Regions from separate parts of the Homo sapiens genome. Here region 1 is linked to region 2. Evidence: promoter capture Hi-C in 16 types of primary human blood cells and fetal thymus (Javierre and others, 2016). All regions are on one chromosome and are shown on one strand. Each heading gives the region's core, a stretch centred on a gene start or on the middle of the fragment in contact. The rest is flanking DNA. Distances are from core to core; before and after follow the strand shown. Region 1 overlaps DYNC2H1 (dynein cytoplasmic 2 heavy chain 1). Region 2 holds the start of CWF19L2 (CWF19 like cell cycle control factor 2).

Region 1 (3,345 bases), core at 21-2,520, 4.3 Mb before region 2:
GTAGTGGCGCGATCTCTGCTCACTGCGTCCTCCACCTCCTGAGTTCAAGCGATTCTCGTGCCTCAGCCTCCCGAGTAGCAGGCGCGCGCCGCCACGCCTGGCTAATTTTTGTATTTTCAGTAGAGACGGGGGTTTCACCACGTTGGCCATGTGGGTCTCCATCTCCTGACCTCAAGTGATCCGGCCTCCCAAAGTGCTGGGATTGCAAGCATGAGCCACCGCGCCCGGCCTATATTCTACTTTTTAAGAAAGACTGCAGATACGTTATAACTAAAAAGAAAACATTTACTTAGTTATTTTTATTTTTTTCTCTCCCCTTTTTGAGTTTTTTTTTTGGGGGGAAGGCAAATTCTAGTCTATCTTTTTTGGATCAGGCTCTGATTTTAACATTGCCCAAGGGAAAGATTAGTTAGGAATTTAAATTTTTGTGAAATGATATATTTCAAAATAAAGTTTGAATTCTTTTTTGGTGTACATCATGTGATATACTGATTTATTAATTGCACTGCTCCCTCCACTGGCAGGATTGCTTAAAAAATGGGTTGCATTTGCAATCAGGGCTTATATATATAAGCCTAAAAGAAAAACACAGAAGAAAATTGCCTGACACATTAAAGGGGACTCAGTAAATAGATTTAAGTTAATAAAACAAAGACATATTTTAAACCTCTTCCTTTGGTGTTCACCCTTATCCCTAGGTCTAGCAGAGTTTTTGACACTCAGCAAAAACATTCAGTGCCTTTTTTTTTTTTTTTAGACGCAGTTCGCAGTTTCGCTCGTATTACCCAGGCTGGAGTGCAATGGCACAATCTTGGCTCACTGCAACCTCTGCCTCCCGGGTTCAAGCGATTCTCCTGCCACAGCCTCCCAAGTAGCTGGGATTACAGGGCATGTGCCACCACACCCAGCTAATTTTTTGCAATTAGTAGAAATGGGGTTTCACCATGTTGGTCAGGCTGGTCTCGAACTCCTGACCTCAGGTGATCCACCCGCCTTGGCCTCCCAAAGTGCTGGGATTACAGGTGTGTGCCACCGTGCCTGGCTTCAGTGCATTTTTATAGGATGATTGAATCATTCACCCTATTCACTATCTTTATTCTTAGGTTTAATTCGATTGTATTTAATAAACATTTACTTTGAACTCAGTACATGCAAGGCACTTTGCCAGGCATGATGGGTTTACAAAGATATAAAAAGGATGGATAATCATAGCTAACATTTATTTTCACTTTAGACTCTGTCAAGCACTGTTCTAAGTACTTTATATGTATTCGTTCATTTAATAGCCATAACGACATTGTAAGATAGGAACTATTCTTTTTCTTATTTTATGGCTGAGGAAAGTAAGGGACAAAATTTACAACCTAAATGTTAACTTTTCTTTTTCTCCAATAGGTAGCGTAGTTCAGGATAGAGCCCCCTGCTTTCTGCCTTTCCTAGACTCACTCCAGTGGCTTAGGATGACATATACTCAGCAAATGATAAAATCAGGACACACTGTTGTAAATGCCACTGAAAGTTCGGATAGAATGCAGTAGGAAAGATGGAAAGGGGTTTGGATTCGTGAAAGTGTATCTTGGCTTGGGTATTTGAAAGTTGAAGGTAGAACTTTTTTTTTTTAAGTTAAAGCTATTACTAGTAAAGCCCAACGATGTATCTGTTATTTTTAGTTGTACACTTCGCTACAGGTTTTTAGTCATATTTGAAAATATTTTGTTATGTCTTCAGTTGTACTTTAGTTGCCTGATAGTTAGCGTGATTCAATAAGTTAATAAGTCAGCAAATATTTATTGCCTACCTACTAGTACTGGGGACAAAGCCATGAACACAGAGTCCGTATCTTAAAGGAGTAACATTGGAATGGACAAAGGTAGGCTAAACGCATGCTACAGATATATGTAACATAATTTTGGGTATTGATAAGTGCCGTTAAGATAAAAATAATGTTATAGTAGTGATGGGGCAGCGTGGGGAACTAAAGATATATAGGGTGGGAGATAATCCCTCTCTGGATTAGTTATCTTTGAAGCGAGATTTGAATGATGAGTTGCAGGCAGGCATAACCTGGGGGAAGAGTGTTCTAAGCAAAAGAAACTGTAAGTACCAAGGCCCTGAGCTGGGTTTTAACTTAGTTTCCAGGGGCAAGAAAAAAAATCCAGAGTGATTGCTGGAGTTTATGGTATGAAGGAACATTGTGGTAGATGAGAAAGGAGAATAAGGCACAGGCTGATCATTTAGGACACTGTATACCATTTAAATTGAAATAGGAAGTTATTGGTAATCTTAAGCAAGAGAGAGCTGTGATCTGGTTTATGCTTTAGGACAGAGGTTGGCAAAAAGTTTTCTGTAACGGGTCAGATAATATTGCAGGCAACAAGGGCTCCATTAGCAGCTACAACTTGGCCTTTGTAGTGTGAAAGCAGACATGTAATACTTTGTAATAATACATGTAATTGAATGGGAATGGCTATGTTCTAATAAAACTTTATGGACACTGACATGTGGATTTCATATACTTTTCATGTGTCATGAAATGTTATAAGCATTTGAGCAGTAACAAAGTTTCAGCTCCTTTCCAGTGGCCAAAAATGTAATTATTTGGATAGAAATAAGTGGCATGAGACCCATAGCTGTTCTTCCTACACAGCAGTGACCTTGTCTGAAAGCTTTTTAATGTGTAGACTTCTTTTCCTGAAAAAAGAAATGAGAATAACTGAGAATGTGTGTATAATGCAAAAACTTCCTTTGACTAGTATAGTTCTCAGCTAATGAACTCATTACTATGAACTGACCTATTTTAAACAAGATTGCTGTAGTGAATTCCAATTGAGTTCATCTGGTTCCGATTTAAAATAATCTAGCTATATGACAATTTAACAAAGTTTTATGCTCTTAACTCTTTAAGGAAAAATTTTCAGTTAAGATAAAGTTAATTTCAGGAGATAGACAACTTAAGTTCATTTTGGTAGTTTTGAGTGCATGTATAATTTTAAAAGCACCTTTTAAAATGCTTTTTCTAAGTAAGAGGGTAATTAATTACATTTTGTTATAGACTTTCTGGGTTACTAGAGAAGCACACTACTCATTGTGTACCTGGAGCCTACAGCTTTCATCTGTACTATTACTGATTCTGGCTAGAATGGACTCTGGCTGGAATGGAATCTGGCTGGAATGGAATCTGACTGGAATGGAATAGTTAGCAGTCAACAACGTATATATTGTTTTATGTTTATAAATAACTTATCAAAGTGACTTTATGATCTAATGTAAGTGGGAATAAGTTTTTAAACTGAAGTATTCTTAAGGAAAGAAGAGATAAATTGGTTTTAATATATTTATTTTTAA
Region 2 (3,165 bases), core at 278-2,777:
TCGTTCCTGCCCTCTTTCTTTCCCTGTAACTCCAAAGCTCAGTTTGGTCCTTTTCAAATTCTATGCATATCTCTACTATAAGATTTATCTCAACTTACGAAACTTACTCCCTCCAAAAACTGCTGGAAATACCAAAGAGAAAAGAATGAATAATATATATATACCCACACACACACATTACATATGTTGAAATTACGAAACAATACCAACATTTCACCTACCCAAGACTAATCGCCCACTCTTCCCCTTTAAAACCTGGCTGTAGTCATTTTCTTTTTTTTTTTAATCAAATATAAAAATAATTTATTAAAGGTTTATATCAGAGAACTGCTGAAGCAACAAGAACTAGAAGAGTTAATATTCCAGAAAAGGGAAAATCATGGAGAGGTAGTCCAACATTCTGCAGCTAGCTTTTCCCTGGGTGCATATAATAATTCTTGGTGTAGGCAAGAAGATGAATACAATGGTTATATACCAAACAGAAAAATCGATATCAGAGAAAAGAGCAGGGCTTATGATGGACTCCAAAGAACAGGGTGAGAAAATTGGAGATTAAAGGAGAATGGGGCTGCTTCACCCTCAAATTATTTGCCAAATTTTGAAACTATGTCATTTTCCCTTTAGAGTCTCCTCTCCCTCTTCTCTGCTGGCTCCTTCTCATTTGCATTTAAACTTGTTTAAAACTCTTCCAACTTAAATAAAAACAAAAACCCTCACTGAATTCTCTGTTGCTCTCCAACTGCAACTTTTCTCTTTCATTGCCACACTTCTTACATATTGAATAGATTGTCAGATAATTCAGAAGCTTACTTTCTCCATTCTTTGTATGTTACCTCTATGTATCTGAAGTTTAGTGAGAAATACAATGTTTCGCGATCTTTTGTGACAGGCTAAATATACTGAGATTGGTGTTAACTTTTGTTTGGATTGGTAAGAGCTTACAGTAAGTCTGGAATTGATACCAATAGAGACAGGAGGAGGAAATGTCAAACTGAGTCTATTCAAGTGTGACTTGAATGTGTTTCCGAAAAAGGAAAATCTCATTTCAGATACAGCAGTAGCAATGACTGAGGCTGCGAGACATGCTGGCAGAGTCCTTACAAGCCGCAGGGGACCTACAAAGTGTGCAGTCCGAGTGATAGAAATGTAAAGAATGGGTAACTTAAAAGGTAAAGAAACTTGGAGAAAAAGCGACAGATCTGCCTGAAAAGAGAATTAGCAACTGGCACCTGCCAGAACATCTAAAAAATCGGTAGCTACAAAAGGGTTTACCGGCATTGCAAAGGGAGAACTCACCCAAATTAAGGTGAGATTCAGTACTGACGAGGTAAGGGAAGGGGTGAGTGGGCTAGCTTACGGGAACCCTCAACTCCCACAACAATAAATAACTACAAAAGCCCCAAAACAGAGGTACCTGGCGCAACACCTCGGCCCTGGCATTCCGGGTCTGTTCTTTCCGCTCTTCGATACTCTTCGCACTTTCAAATCTACCACTAGCAGCCGCCATACTTGTTGCCATCGTAAAGCTAAGAAGCCGCAAGAAAATTCTAGTTTACGACGGTCGTAATTTAACAAACAAACCGGGACTTCCGGACCCGAGGAAGGAGGAGCACGGCTCCACCAACAGGGCATGCGCACATCTGAGGTCGCTTAGGGCTCGGATTACCGCAGCCCAGATTTTAAAGACCCGAAGGGTGTTGGAGGGTTTAATTCTTTCAGGTGTTGGGTGCGATTGTGAGCAGGATTAATACCCGTATATATTTATTATGCACTTTTTACTATATTAACAGCTTTCTCACCAATTTCGTCTTAAAATCACCGGAGTAAGTTACAAGCTCTTGGAAGTTAAGTTGGTACCTCTCAAAAGTTTTCTGCGGAAGTACCCTTTGTCGCCAGAGCATCATTTCCCTGTGCTGGAGGAATGGGATAAAGGGAGGCTGCCAGAAAGGTAGTGGCAGCTGGCAGGAAGGACAGAATTGCCTTGAAGATTCAGTGTTTTGTTTTGGTGGATTTTACTTAATATATGAAACACTCATGTGAATTTTGCATTGCACTTCACAATTTACCCGTGCTTAACTTGTTAGAAGTTTACATTATATTTTTTCCTCTGACCCCATATTATTTACTCATACTTATCCATCCAAGCATTTTTCATTACAATGGACAGTTACTTATTTATTTCTGCGGAGATTTCTTTGTTTTGTTTTACGCATGTATCGCCCAAACATAAAACTTTTAAGTTCAGAAGAATAAGACATTCTAAGGTGATGAAGTGCTTTGAGAACATAAGACACTAAGCTTACATTTACAAGAAGAAGAAGGCTGGGGAATTAATTATAAACGATACCTTAAAGACGCTAAAAATAAGTAACATAAGCCAGGTTGAGGTAAATACTCTTTCTCTTCAGGTTTCATAAAATTTAATGTGTGTTTGCAAGAAGCTTTCCAAGAGTTTTTACATTCACTACCATTCTATGAGTCTGAATCTTGAACACACAATGCCTACTTGTTTGATATGCAATAGAAAGTATTCATTTTATTTTAAAATGTAATTTACTAATCGACCTTGTAATATTTAATCAACTGACTACATTGACTGATATTTGTCATAACTAGCATCAACGTCTTTTCAGATTCTCTTGGAATTCAGAAAAACATCCATTTCACTGTTTTGCATCAATTCAATAAAAATAAACTGTGATTATATTAGAAACGTGTGTGTTTTAATCAGTTCAGGCTGCTATAACAAAATATTATAGAATGGATGGCTTATAAATAACAAACAAGTATGTCTTACAGTTCTGGAGGCTGGATAAAATCAAGGTGTTGGGCTATTTGCTGTCTAGTGAAGGTGTGTCCTGGTTCCTAGAGGGCAGTATTTTTGCTGTGTCTCATATGGCGGAAAGGGAGAGGGATCTCTCTAGAACTTCTTTTATAGGAATTCATGAGGGTGCTGCTCTCATGACCTAATCACCTCCCAGAGTCCCTACCTCCATATACCAGCACATTGGGGATTAGATTTCAACATAAGAATTTTGGGGAAACAAACATTCGGTCTAGAGCAATGTGCAAAGTTATATGAAGAAAACTTTAAAATCTTGCATAAGCTCCCCAAAAAGACTAGAACGAATGGAGAGGTATACTATGTGCTTAAAGAAGAAAACA

The links. The method cuts DNA at HindIII sites, captures the fragments that hold promoters and counts their contacts. A CHiCAGO score of 5 or more calls a contact.
Region 1: a contact is called between a fragment that was not itself captured here and the fragment with the promoter of CWF19L2 in region 2, in 5 of 17 cell types (activated CD4 T cells, total CD4 T cells, naive B cells and 2 more). The highest score is 7.3, in activated CD4 T cells.

Annotation. Positions count from the first base shown.
Region 1 is chr11:103,110,082-103,113,426 of GRCh38, forward strand. The region is part of intron 1 of DYNC2H1 (dynein cytoplasmic 2 heavy chain 1); the gene reads left to right. Among named protein-coding and RNA genes, the nearest start is that of DYNC2H1, 2.3 kb to the left of the region's middle. The HindIII fragment of the contact is 2,788 bases long and covers 1-2,664 here.
Region 2 is chr11:107,456,298-107,459,462 of GRCh38, forward strand. CWF19L2 (CWF19 like cell cycle control factor 2) reads right to left here and starts at 1,528. Exons shown (of 18, transcript NM_152434.3): 1 at 1,415-1,528. The coding sequence starts at 1,519. RefSeq lists an enhancer at 1,307-1,812. The HindIII fragment of the contact is 1,493 bases long and covers 804-2,296 here.